Linked DNA regions of Homo sapiens: region 2 is linked to region 1. The links are contacts of gene promoters, found by promoter capture Hi-C in blood cells and fetal thymus (Javierre and others, 2016). All regions are on one chromosome and are shown on one strand. Each heading gives the region's core, a stretch centred on a gene start or on the middle of the fragment in contact. The rest is flanking DNA. Distances are from core to core; before and after follow the strand shown. Region 1 holds the start of H3C4 (H3 clustered histone 4). Region 2 holds the start of SRSF3 (serine and arginine rich splicing factor 3).

Region 1 (6,562 bases), core at 3,685-6,184:
TCTCACCTAGTTATTCAGTTTAAAATGAAAAACAAGAGTCAAGCACTACTATGTCAACAATACTGCACAGGGCATACTGCTGCAGAAAACAATCATTTGGGGAGTAGCCATAAAGGCAAAATAAAGAAATGGAAAGTTAAGGACACTTGAGTTATGTTCTGGTTCCACACAATTCCCTATATGCATTTCTGCAAGTTTTTTTACATAAATATTTGTATGCCGTACTATAATACTAATCTGTACTTTTAGATGTTTGTAAACTACTAGGAAGATTTAAAAGTGGACAAGTATGCAGATAATACGAGACAGATTATAATGGCCTTTTACGAAATCGATGTAGGGGGCCTGGTGCCGTGGCTCATGCCTCTAGTTGCAGCACTGTGGGAGGCGGAGGCGGGCACATCACAGGGTCAGGAGTTAGAGATCAGCCTGGCCAATACAGTGAAACCCTGTCACTAGTGTCTACTAAAAATACAAAAATTAGCTGGGCGTGGTGGCGCGCGCCTGTAGTCCTAGCTACTCAGGAGGCTGAGGCAGAAGAATCGCTTGAACCTGGGAGACGGAGGTTGCAGTGAGCCAAGATCACGCCACTGCACTCCAGGCTGGGCAACGGAGTGAGAGTCCATCTCAAAAAGAGAAAAAAAAGAAAGACATCAATGTAAGAATTCAAAACAGAGAGAGATCTCATCTATTTTGAGAGATGGGGAATGAAAAATATAAAAATTTCAAAGTATGTCATTAGATTAGTTTGAAGTTTAAAACAGGGTGGGGGAGAGAGAAAAAAAGAAGAAAAAAACTGAAAAAAGATACTCTGCAAGGTAATATAATTAGACCAAGATCACATAGCTGCTAAGGGGCAAAACAAGACTGAAATACATGTCATCATGTTTGCAAATTCCATGCTTCTACTAAACCACACTGCCAGATTGTTGATTTAAGGCCATATAAAAGAGTTTGATTGCCATACTAAGATTATTCTTAAATCTAAAGCTATATGAATCCAGCTTTTTCTTCACGGCTTATAAGAATAGAGAAAACCAGTTAAGTGAAGAAAACATAAAGCTACAAGGAGATGGGGCATATAAATTTGAAGCTCATATGAAGAATATTTCACCCAGAGCAATGAAGAGAATGAATGACAGCACAAAGGGATGAGAGAAAGGAGCCACCCATAAGAAGGCTATAAAAATAGCCAGTCCAAAGAAGAGATAGAAGAGCAAGAATTACAACCATGAAAAGGCAAATAAACAAGGAAAGATGAATTTAGGAAGAATTCACCAAACTTAGTAACAGATTGGATTTGGCAACAAAGGAAAGGGAATAATTGAAGTGTCAGTTAACAAAGCAATAGTGTTGTTGTGAACAGAATATATAGGAATGTCACTTGAAAGGTTGCTTCCTAGATGTGGTTGGATATGTTGAGGGTGTGATATACGTAAACAATGAAGCCAATATCCAGCAATCTTAGACAGAAGCTACTTAGATAAGGATGGTCATACTGAGAGTCTGGTATAGAAGATGAACAAGCAGATATCCAGCAACCATCCAGAAATCCAACTTTGATACTTAGGCAAGAGGACAGGCCTGAAGGGAGAGACTTTAGTTACCTGTAAGAAACTAACTCACAAACCCATGAAGGCAAATAGGACAGTACCTCAGAGAATTCCTGCAGTTGGAAGGCTACAAGTCAGTTCTTCCTTTGTTGGTGCTCCAGGAAATCAAATATAAGTATAAAATATAAATATAAAATGGGTCAAAGCCATTTTAAGATTAGAAATACATGGGCTCCATAAAAAGTGAATACACACTCAAAGTAAATGTGATTCATATTTAGCTCATGTCTCATCTCAAACATTTGATTTTAATTTTTATTAACATTTATTAATTTGTTCATGTCCTAGTTTAATTTGCTACATGAAGTCATTTGTATTTTGATGAGATCAAAAAGTGTGAAACCCTCACCTTTTGGGCTTTACTCTGTCTGTTCCCAGCATTTATCTCCTTCATAGTCTTAGTAAAACAGAAATGTATATGCTCCCCAGATCAGCATACGTTCAAGACATTGAGGAGTGAAGAAAATCAGTTAATTCACTTTCTGCCATCACTCCATTTTCTTCTCATATCGAACATAAGCTGTACTTCATCACTATAAGCCTATATCCTTGTTTAAACAAGAAATGTAGTACTGAATATGAAACATGGCTGTTTTTTAAATTTCTCTCTCTAGGGAATTTTGTGTGTGTGTGGTGCTTGTGTGTATATTCTTTGATCCTGGTACTTGAATAGTTTACCAAAGTCTATTTTCCCCGTGTCACCAAGCATGACAGACCCCTGAACCCAAAGACTCATGAATATTTTAATAACAAATTTCCCCCAGTAAAAATTTAAAAAAAAAATTTTTTTTTGACCCTTAAATGAGTCAAACTCTGTCTCTTTTATGTCCTTTCGTGGATCTCTCCTGAGTTCAGCTATGCAAACAGTCCCAATATCAGGAGAATCAGTGATCATTGTATTTCCCATTTTCCCAAGGAAACGTTGAACATTTACTGGAACCCTCCCAAAGTAACTAAACGTCCAAATAGTTACAAGAAGCTATCATGAAATATTTTCAGCCCCAGCTAATTTTATCAGAAAGGGCTGTTGTTCTAAGTATCCGTACTGCTGTTCTTGTGGAGAAATTCAAAAAGAACCTGTTGTTTCTCTTCTCATATAAAACAGATTTCCTCGTTAAATCTCAATGAAAATCAAGTAGTTGTTCAATGTATGAGAAGCCAAAAATGTGTAGGCTATTATTAGAAGACAGCAAACAATTGAAGACACGAATGGAAGAATTTATATTTTAAATGAAAATCAAGAAGTTGTCCCTCTGAACTGTGAATCTCTGAAAGTTGGAACTTTTGATAAAGGCCGAGGCTGCCTTAAGTAAAAACTAGAGAAAGAAAATGTAAAGATCATAACACCGTAGCCGTTCCAGTTCATTGTAGAATAGAATTGGTGTGATTCCTCCTCAGGAAATTTAAACTATTTTGATTTTCTGAATTTCCGCAAACACAACTCAGAAACAGGGTTGAGACTAGGTTGCTGCCAAGCTGAAAGACTGAGCTGGGAACCAATCAGCGCGCAGCGTGTCTGTGTGTGACACACACGTAATCACAGACACACTCGCAGCCTGACTTTTTTTTTTTTTAACTGTTAGATATCCAAACCTACAATCATGTCCGAAACTGTACATGCCGTGACTCCTGGTCTATCTCCCAAGTCAAAGACTGAAGTAAAGAAAAAGGTTGCAAGTCCGAAGTTGCAGTGAAGTGCAAGATGTCCAGGCCCCTCCGGTATGTGAGTTCATCACTAATGACTTAGCCGTCTCCAAGAAGCGCAGCGGCCTTCTCTGTGGCCGCGCTCAAGTAGGTGTTGGCGGCTACGATATGAAGATCGGCCCTTGCCGGTCGCGGTGGCCTACGTTTGTAATCTCAGCATTTTGTGAGGCCAAGGCGGGAGAATCTCTTAAGCTAAGGAGTTGTTTTTGGTGGTTTTGTTTGTCCTTGGGGATTTTTTTTTTTTTTTTGAAGGAGTCTAGCTCTGCTGCCCAGGCTGGAGTGCAGTGGTGTGATCTCGGTTCACTGCAACTTCCGCCTCCCGGGTTCAAGCCCTTCTCCTGCCTCAGCTTTCCATGTAGCTGGGACTGCAGGCGTGTGCCACCACACCCGGCTAATTTTTGTATTCTCAGTAGAGACGAAGTTTCAATGTGTTGGGCAGGCTGGTCTCGAACTCTTGGCATCACGTGATCCGCCCGCCTTGGCATCCTAAAGTGCTGTGATTACAGGCCTGAGCCACCTCGCCTGGCCAAGCTAAGGAGTTTTGAGGCCAGCCTGGGTAACACAGTGAGACCTCGTCCCTAAAAATAAATACAAATTTTTAAAAATTATTTGAATAAAGTTGGGCCTTGAAAACAAACGAGGGCATCTTCGTGCTAAGGAGTGCAGCGCCTCAGGTTCATTCCCGCCAAACCAGGCAGTGTTAGGAAAATCAAGACCGAGGCCAGAAAAGCCGCTGCAGTCATGCCCAAGACAGCTGTCCTGGCAGCCGAGAGGCCCAAGAAAGCTTGGGGCGTCCTTATTCCGAAAAAGAGTACTAAGCGGACCCCAAAAGCTTTTGCTGGTGGAGGCTGCTGGAGAAGGTTGGTTGGTCAAAGGTGGCCAAGAAAGTTCCCAAGCCGGAGGCATCCAAGCCTAAGAAAGCGGCCCCCAAAACAAGGAGATATAAGAGTACCTTAAAGGCTGTTTTAAGAACTCCCCAATTATAATAAAGCTTTTTGCACCAATTCCGTGAGGGGAGGGGGAACGGATAGAGGCAAGAATGCTTACTTACCTTGAGTGAACAGAGGTTCCAGTTTACGGACAGCAACAGTAAACAGCAACTTTTATAGAAAAGGTGGTTGGCTCTGAAAAGAGCCTTTGGGTTTTGGTTAGCACACATTCACAAGACAATTTACGCCCTCTCCCCACGAATGCGGCGAGCAAGCTGGATGTCCTTGGGCATGATAGTCACTCGCTTGGCGTGAATGGCGCATAGGTTGGTGTCCTCAAACAGCCCCACCAGGTAGGCCTCGCAGGCCTCCTGCAGCGCCATCACCGCCGAGCTCTGAAAACGCAGATCAGTCTTGAAGTCCTGCGCGATCTCACGGACTAGACGCTGGAATGGCAGTTTGCGAATCAGCAGCTCGGTCGACTTCTGGTAGCGGCGGATCTCGCGCAGAGCCACCGTGCCGGGCCGGTAACGGTGGGGCTTCTTCACGCCGCCGGTGGCTGGAGCGCTCTTTCGAGCAGCCTTGGTGGCCAGCTGCTTGCGTGGCGCTTTCCCACCCGTGGACTTGCGAGCAGTCTGCTTGGTACGAGCCATTGCGAACTTCTAAACCCTGCTAAATGACGAAAAAACGAAAGTCTAGCCTTTCGTACCCGTATATATAAAGACACCCCTGTTCTGATTGGACAAGGCAGCCTTTCCCCTGCAGCTCGATTGGTGGAGACGCCCACTCCCTGACAGAACATCTCCTGCATGTAGACCAAATATTAAAACTTTCCTCCGTCCATCTTTAACTGCTGGTGTTTTCAACCCTTTCCCCTCTGTGCCATGTTTCTAGCTTTTATTTAAAACGTACTTTGGTTTTCCTTGGCAAAATTGTGTCTAGCTACTAGGATGACGTGTCTTAATTTTTTTTTAAATGTTGGCGCTGAAACTGGCTTTGATCAACGTTTTAAAAAGACGCGCGCTAGTTGTGATTGGCCAAGTGATTTCTTTTTACCCTCTTAAGTTTAGAAAGGTTAATTTCATATCTTGATTTGTCTATTTAAACTTGGAGATATTTTCAATAATTTGTTCCAAATGCACCATGACTATTAACTCATAAGTAACAATATGAAACCTGATGTTAAGCTACATGAACACATTTAATTTCACCACAATATGTCATCCTCATATGAAAGCACTCTTATCTTTTACAAGTTCAACTGGTATTTGTGTAATCTGCTGTAAAAAAAAAAAAAAAAAAAAGCCAAATTTATAAATGGCACAAAAAGACCAGTGTGCCCTTTTAGTCATGCTGAACACTGTGCTAAGAAGCTCCACCTAAGGGCCGTCTGGCTCCAGGGGATGTAGGTTTGTATTCCTATTGATAATTAATTAGGGTTAGCTCAGTAGAGTTGAAAGTGGCTTGCAAAAACAAACCCAAAAAATACTTACAAATTACAGGTTATTTCGTATCATTAAGATGCATACAAAAGACAATAAAACATTTGTTCTGGTTCTGTTGCTTTAAGTCACTAACTATATTTTTATGTAAATGTAAACACTGACAAACATTAACTTCTCTCCTGTATGTCTCAGGCCTTTTAACAGCTTTGCAATCCTAACGAGCCGCTGCATTGATCGATTTAAATTACATGTGACATAAAGTCTCTTTGCATTTTAATTAGTTTGCTTTTTTGGGTTTTTGTTTGTTTTGAGACAGTCTCGCTCTGTCGCCGAAACTGGAGTGCAGTGGCGCGATCTCGACTCACTGCAACCTCCGCCTCCGGGGTTCAACATTTTCTCCTGCCTCAACCTCTTAAATAGCTGAAATTACAGGCGCGCGCCACCACGCCCGACAAATTTTTTTATTTTTAGTAAAGACGGGGCTTCACACCATGTTGGTCAGGCTGTCCTGGAACTCCTGACCCTGTGATCCGCCCACCTTGGCCTTCCAAAGTCCTGGGATTACAGGCGTAAGGAACCGCGCCCCGCCAATTTGCTTATGTATTTTTATGGCATCTTTAAAATGGACGGTTAGTTTCACGATTCAGTGTTAAGAACACCCACTTATAAATGGAAAAATTATTAAAGAAAACTGCAAAATAGCTATTTACACAGAAAATGTGAGCCCTTTTAAGGAATACATGGGTGGCTCTGAAAAGAGCCTTTGTTAAGACTGCTTCCTTAAAAAGCCAATATAAGAGTTCTCGTTTTACTTGCCCTTGGCCTTGTGGTGACTCTCAGTCTTCTTGGGGAGCAGTACAGCCTGGATGTT
Region 2 (6,562 bases), core at 2,423-4,922, about 10 Mb after region 1:
CAGCCTGGGCAACAGAACGAGACTCCATCTCAAGAAAAAAAAAAAAAGAAAAAAGAAAAAAAAAAACATAATAATTGGCATATCTTTCAGCTAAGAGGGAATAAATAAAAAGACAGGTTCTTTTTCTCTCTTTTTTTTTTTGTGCAGTGGTAGGATCTCAGCTCACGGCAACCTCCGCCTCCTGGGTTCAAGCGATTCTCCTGCTCTCAGCCTCCCAAGTAGCTGGGATTACAGGCGCCTGCCACCATGCCCGGCCATTTGTATTTTTAATAGAGACGGGATTTCACCATGTTGGCCAGGCTGGTCTTGAACTCCTGACCTCAAGTGATCCGCCTGCCTCGGCCTCCCAAAGTGCTGGGATTACAGGCATGAGCCACCGCGCCCGGCCCTTGGTGATTTTTCTAACCCAATCACAGTCTCTCTCCCCTTAATTACTCTTGCGGCTCTGTCTTCGTAAGGGAAGTGGCCCGGACAAAATACATGCCAGGCAGTGCAACGGCTGCTAGGAGAAAGGCTCGAGATACCCCTCCTGGCATTTGCTTGGGGGCCAGAATTTACATTCAATCTTCTTCAGAAACTTCCCTTTCCGGGTGTTTGCTAAAGGTGATAGTTTCCAGGTCACCTGACCGGTCTCCTTTGCTGTCGGCGCCAAGTCCTGCAAGTTTGCTTGAGAGACGAGAAACCAGCAAGAGTTGGGCAAACTTTCCAAACCAGGCTTTTCCTTCAGTGTGGAATCTAGGCGGCCACAGTCTGGTGCCAGCTGGGTCACAAACAGCTCCGTGACCTGTTTGTAAACGCGATGCTCTTAGTTCCAGACTAACCGCTCACAAGGGTGAAGCACTTAATTAATTCATCTCTTAATCTTGTTAGGGGCCAACGGCTCCTATTAGTGTTTGAGCGTGACGGCGACGGTGCTGTTTATGAAGCCCTAGCCTATTTGGAGGTGAGGAAGAGGAGTCTGTGGGTAACCTGGAGGTCGACAGACCGGGAGGAACGCTCGAGGGAGCACCAGGCCTGTTACAACGAGCGCGCGCCGACGCACGTCTCCACCCACCCGGCGCAACCGCCAGAGCGCGCTCCCAGCAACCGCGGCTCTCGCTGCGTTTGTAGCCATACGTCACGGCCTCTTCTGCTTCTCATTGGGGGAGCCCGTCCAATCATGTGATTCCAGTATGGCGTATAAATAAAGGCGAGGAGAAGGCGGTGGTCCGCCATTTCGTGGACGCCGGGTGAGTGAGAGAGTTGGTTGGTGTTGGGCCGGAGGAAAGCGGGAAGACTCATCGGAGCGTGTGGATTTGAGCCGCCGCATTTTTTAACCCTAGATCTCGGTAAGAGACCAGCGAAAGAGGGAATGAGGTGGAAATGGAATTTAACAGTACCAAGGAGCCAGGCCCAATGGCGGCGCCAGATTGAGACAAAGAGGCGCCGCCGCCATTTTGTGACGTTCAGCACGGGGCGGTGGCGGGGGCTCCCGGCCCATCGGAGGGTTTCCTAGTCTTGGAGTGGAAGTCTTTATATTCCTCATTGGGGCATGAGCCAGGATGGGGGTTACCTGGGAGTTGGGAACCACAAAGGGGAGCCGATAGCCGAGTTGTATTCCAGGTCACGGCCTTTTTATTTTTATGGCGCCTTTTTTTTTTTTGGCCCCTCATTTAATTGGGAAGCTTCTCAGAATGTTTTTGTAAAGTCACTAACCAAGACCGGACCTTTCAGTTCATATTAAATGGCCCCCGTAGTCACCTTACTTTCATGTAGTTTCAGATTTTGCAGCCTGAATCTAATCACCTTTTTCTAAGACCGAAAGATCTTCCTTGAACTTAAGATTCGTTCTTTCATCGCTTCCCATTAAAATGGAGGCTTAAGACAGGTGCCAGCAGTGTTTTTAAAAATTTTCACCAGTGGTTTGGTCTTAGAACTTACTCCTGGGCACAGGGTGTGGTCACGGCAAATAGGATGTGTCTGGACTGGATATTTTAATTAGACAAGCCCAGAGTAAGAAGAACGTGGTGTTTATGGAAAGCACTTCAGCTGAATTATTGAGTAGATGGTTTTTATGTAATTGAAACTGGTCTACAAGTTTATCAGATTCATCGTCGAAGTGACTCAGTAATAAAGCTTTATCAAATACAAGTCCGCCAAGGAAGAACAAAAAAATAAGTCCCCAAAGTGCAGTAAATTTTTTAGTAGCAAATATCTCTTTGTAATTTTTTATTAAAGTGAAATTATCTTTAAGTGGTATTTAGTATATTCAGTGTTGTGTAATCATCACTTACACGTAGTTCCAAAACATTTCCGTCACCTCCCCCCGCAGGAGACTACTACCCATTGAGCACTTACTCCCAGATTCCCTGTCCCCCTTCCTCTAGTCCCTAGCAACCACTAATCTTCCTGTCTCTCTGAACTTAGCTATTTTAGATATTTAGTATTTATGGAATCGTGTACTTTTATGTCTGGCTTCTTTAACTTAGCGTAATGTTTTCAAGATTTTCCAACGTTGGAGGATTTGTCAGTACATCATTCTGAATAATACTCATTTTATGTCTATACCACATTTTGCTTATCCGTTTCTGTTGATGGACATTTGGGTTAACATCTTTGGGCTACTGTGAATAAGTGCTACTATGAGTTTACATTTTTTAAAAAACTGTAAAGTTGGTCTCGTTGCTTGATAAATTTTTACCGCGTAAGACTCTGGTCTATCTAATGACATTTGATACTAGCCTTGTTCCTATAGTTCCAAATGACCAAAATAGGCATTTATTTATTTATTTATTTGTGGTTTTTTTTTGGCGATGGAATCTCGCTCTGTCGCCGAGGCTGGAGTGCAGTGGCGCGATCTCGGCTCACTGCCACCTCCGCCTCGCGGGTTCAAGCGATTGTTCTGCCTCAGCCTCCCGAGTAGCTGGGACTACAGGTGTGCGCCACCATGCCCGGCTAATTTTTGTATTTTTAGTTGTGACGGGGTTTCACCATATTGGCCAGGCTGGGTCGAACTCCTGACCTCGTGATTCGCCCGCCTCGGCTTCCCAAAAGTTCTGGGATTGCAGGTGTGAGCCGCCGCGCCCGGTCCATGGGCATTTTTTTAAAAGTGAAAATCGTTGGCCTTATTTTTATTAAAGCTGGTAAGTTTTGGCTTATGTAGGTACTTTGAATCGCTTGCCTGGTAGTATAACCTTAAGGACTAGCTTTCTTCATCATTGTTTTATTTAGTTTTGAGTCCCCAACAGAATTCTCTTCTGTTTTTCTAGAAATGCTTTATTTTGGGGATTAAATGAAATAACAGGTTAAGTCTCTTAACTCACGGCCCAGATGGTGGTAAATGCTCCTCCAGTTGTTCTCAACGTTCCAAGGAAGCTGTTTTTTTCTTCACTAATTGCTGGCTTCCTGAGGGTTAGGAGTAAAGATAATGGGGCGGGGTGGCGGGGGGGGGGAAATGGGTGCTTAGCAGTAACATTTCTTGTTTGGTTTCTAGCATTTTTGTAATTTTTTTTTCTTTACGTGCTACCTTAAACTCTCTTGTCCTCTCTAATGGAGTTCTTTCTAAGGATCTGTGGTTTTAACTGTAGATGTTTAGATGAATGAATATTTTTGGTATTTTTCATTACAGAAATGCATCGTGATTCCTGTCCATTGGACTGTAAGGTTTATGTAGGCAATCTTGGAAACAATGGCAACAAGACGGAATTGGAACGGGCTTTTGGCTACTATGGACCACTCCGAAGTGTGTGGGTTGCTAGAAACCCACCCGGCTTTGCTTTTGTTGAATTTGAAGATCCCCGAGATGCAGCTGATGCAGTCCGAGAGCTAGATGGAAGGTGATTTAATGATTACGCTGATAAAAATGTGTTGCTTGTGTTTTTCATATTTAAAATCTACAGGATATGTGGCTCTTAGATGGCTTTCCCAATCACTGGCCAATTGTATCTTTAGATACAATTGGGATCTTTTTTTTTTTTTTTTTTTTTGGTGGGGAGACGAGTCTTGCACTGTCACTGGGCTGGAGTGCAGTGGTACAGTCTCCCGCTCCCCGCAACCTCGGCCTCCGGGGTTCAAGTGATTCTCCTGCCTCAGCCTTCTGAGTAACTGGGACTACAGGCGTGTGCCATCATGCGGGGCTGATTTTTGTATTTCTAGCAGAGATGGGGTTTCACCATGTTGGCCAGGCTGGTCTCGAACTCCTGACCCCAGGTGATCTGACCGCCTTGACCTCCCAAAGTGCTGGAATTACAGGTGGGAGCCACTGTGCCCAGCCAGGATCAAATATTTTTAAGAGTAGTTGTGAACTGATCCTTGTTTAAAAAATTGTTTACAAAATGGTTACATGGGTTGGTTGTACCTTTACTTTTATGTGTTTGAAATACTCCAGAAAGTGAATCACTTACTATTTCCCTTTGTGTTAATAGTGTCCTGTTAGCTGGCTGAGTAAGGCCTGAGTATTGACCTCCATGCCCCCACCCCCCTTTCCTCATATTTGGAAGTATAATGGGAAAAAGGAGCTGAGTGTTCACTGTAAAGCTGCATGAAAGGTTGGTCAATTCAAGCAGGTTGTAGTAAAGTTTTCCAGGGCCCACCTCTTCCCAGTCACTCTTCAAATATGATAGCTTATCTAAATTTAATGACTGGTTGTATTAAGGGTGAGGAATAATGGTCTTTTTTTTTTTTTTTTACTACTGTGAGCTATAATTTCTTTTTTTAAAAAAATGTATATTTATTATTTAAAAAATAATACAGACGACAGTCTGTGTTGCCCAGGCTGGCCTCAAGCTCCTGGGCTCAAGCCATCCTCCTGCCTCAGCCTCTCTGAGTGCTGGGATTACAGGCATGAGCCACCTCACCTGGCCACAGCTATAATTTCTTCTGTGCTGACTGTTGAGGGGAGAGGGTGCTGTAAAATGGCCAAAATGGTTCTGTCTTGTCTTGAACTGATTTTTTACTTGGAGTGGGGCAGGGGGAGACCAATAAATACAGCCTGGTAAATAACTGAAATAAGTGCAGGGACTTCAAGGGAAGAAATCATAATGAAGATACAGGAGAACTTGTTTTTCAAGGATAAATGGATCTTCACACTTAAATTGCAACTGTTAACAAATTAACATTGAGCTCAGTAATCAGACTGGCTCTAACAATTAGGTGATAAAATAGAATTTGACTTCCTTGTGAATTGGTACTTTAGAAAATCCTATTTGTTTAATTTGAAATTAATTGAAATTTTAATTTGAAACTGGGAAACAAGCTTATTTTATTTTTCAAGACAGAGTCTTGCTCTGTCCCCCAGGCTGGAGTGCAATGGTGTGATCTTGGCTCGTTGTAACCTCTGCCTACTGGGTTCAAGTGATTCTCCTGCCTCAGCCGCCTGAGTAGCTGGGATTACAGGCATGTACCACCACACCTGGCTATTTTTTGTATTTTTAGTAGAGCGAGGGTTTCACCACGTTGGCCAAGATAGTGTCGAACTCTTGACCTTGTGATCCGCCTGCCTCGGCCTCATAAAGTGTTGGGATTACAGGCGTGTACCACCGTGCCTGGCCAAAGCTCATTTTATATTAGTAAAAATAAGGGAGCTAGAAATTTGATGTTAAATTGCACAGACACTTAGGTGTGTTCTTTGCAGAATAGCCAACTGAGAGTACTTTTGGCTTTAATACGCATGTCAGAAAGTCAGGCTGTTTTAAGTTTAATATCTTTGCCCCCTCAGAACACTATGTGGCTGCCGTGTAAGAGTGGAACTGTCGAATGGTGAAAAAAGAAGTAGAAATCGTGGCCCACCTCCCTCTTGGGGTCGTCGCCCTCGAGATGATTATCGTAGGAGGAGTCCTCCACCTCGTCGCAGGTACTTGAGAGAAAGCTTGTTAAGAGGTATTGGTGTAATGGAGTAGCTAGTAGGAGCAGGTATTTCTCTTAAGTTTGTTGGTGGGTTTTAAACTTTGGAAGAATCGGAGGTTTCTGTGAAACATTTGTTGGGTGTAATTTGGGGTATGTGAGTTGTGCTGAGTGTTGGCTTTTGTCTTTAGGTCACTGTTCATGTTGGTAGTCAGTAACTTCTATCTTGGATCTGTCTTCTAGTTCATCTTTCTAGTTGCATCTTTCCAAATCTTCCCTTATACTTCAGTTTAGGCCTTTTTCCATTTCTTGGCTCCATAATGACAAACATTACATTCAACTCTAGCTCTTCACAAATTTGTGTTTTCTACTATTAGCACAATTGTAATATTTATCAAACAGGCAGCTGTTTTAATGTTACAACTGGTAAAGTAGAAATCATTCTGAGACTAACTTAAGTCACTGACCAATAAAGGGGGCTAAAAAAGAAGTAATCCCAGTCATCTGTTCTTCAATCCCAAATAGGAGAAAATTCAGTTTTTTTATAATTGAAAATGGCATCATTCTTGGACCAGGCAGTATTGTCTGGGTGCTAACTCCACATCTCCTCAGACCTCCAAAATAGTTTCTATAGGACTAAATTTACCTCTTACAGGTGAGTGGAGTCCTTCTAGGAGACAGGAGTTCAAAATCTTGCCCCTTTTGCTATTTTGAAAAACAACAGCACACTGTTGCCCATCAT

The links. The method cuts DNA at HindIII sites, captures the fragments that hold promoters and counts their contacts. A CHiCAGO score of 5 or more calls a contact.
Region 2: a fragment that was not itself captured here is called in contact with the fragment with the promoter of H3C4 in region 1 in 1 of 17 cell types (fetal thymus); the score reaches 6.7 in fetal thymus.

What each region holds. Positions count from the first base shown.
Region 1 is chr6:26,192,352-26,198,913 of GRCh38, forward strand. H3C4 (H3 clustered histone 4) reads right to left here and starts at 4,935. Exons shown (of 1, transcript NM_001376937.1): 1 at 4,433-4,935. The coding sequence starts at 4,899. The coding sequence ends at 4,489. H2AC7 (H2A clustered histone 7) reads right to left here. Exons shown (of 1, transcript NM_021065.3): 1 at 6,433-6,562. The coding sequence ends at 6,500. It also overlaps the pseudogene H1-12P. RefSeq lists enhancers at 4,062-4,663, 4,176-4,285, 4,664-5,264, 6,007-6,066, 6,097-6,156 and 4 more. The HindIII fragment of the contact is 2,796 bases long and covers 4,307-6,562 here.
Region 2 is chr6:36,593,154-36,599,715 of GRCh38, forward strand. SRSF3 (serine and arginine rich splicing factor 3) reads left to right here and starts at 1,209. Exons shown (of 6, transcript NM_003017.5): 1 at 1,209-1,328; 2 at 3,608-3,815; 3 at 5,696-5,830. The coding sequence starts at 3,610. RefSeq lists enhancers at 717-876, 985-1,666, 1,267-1,496, 3,512-4,012, 4,013-4,513 and 1 more. The HindIII fragment of the contact is 3,118 bases long and covers 2,114-5,231 here.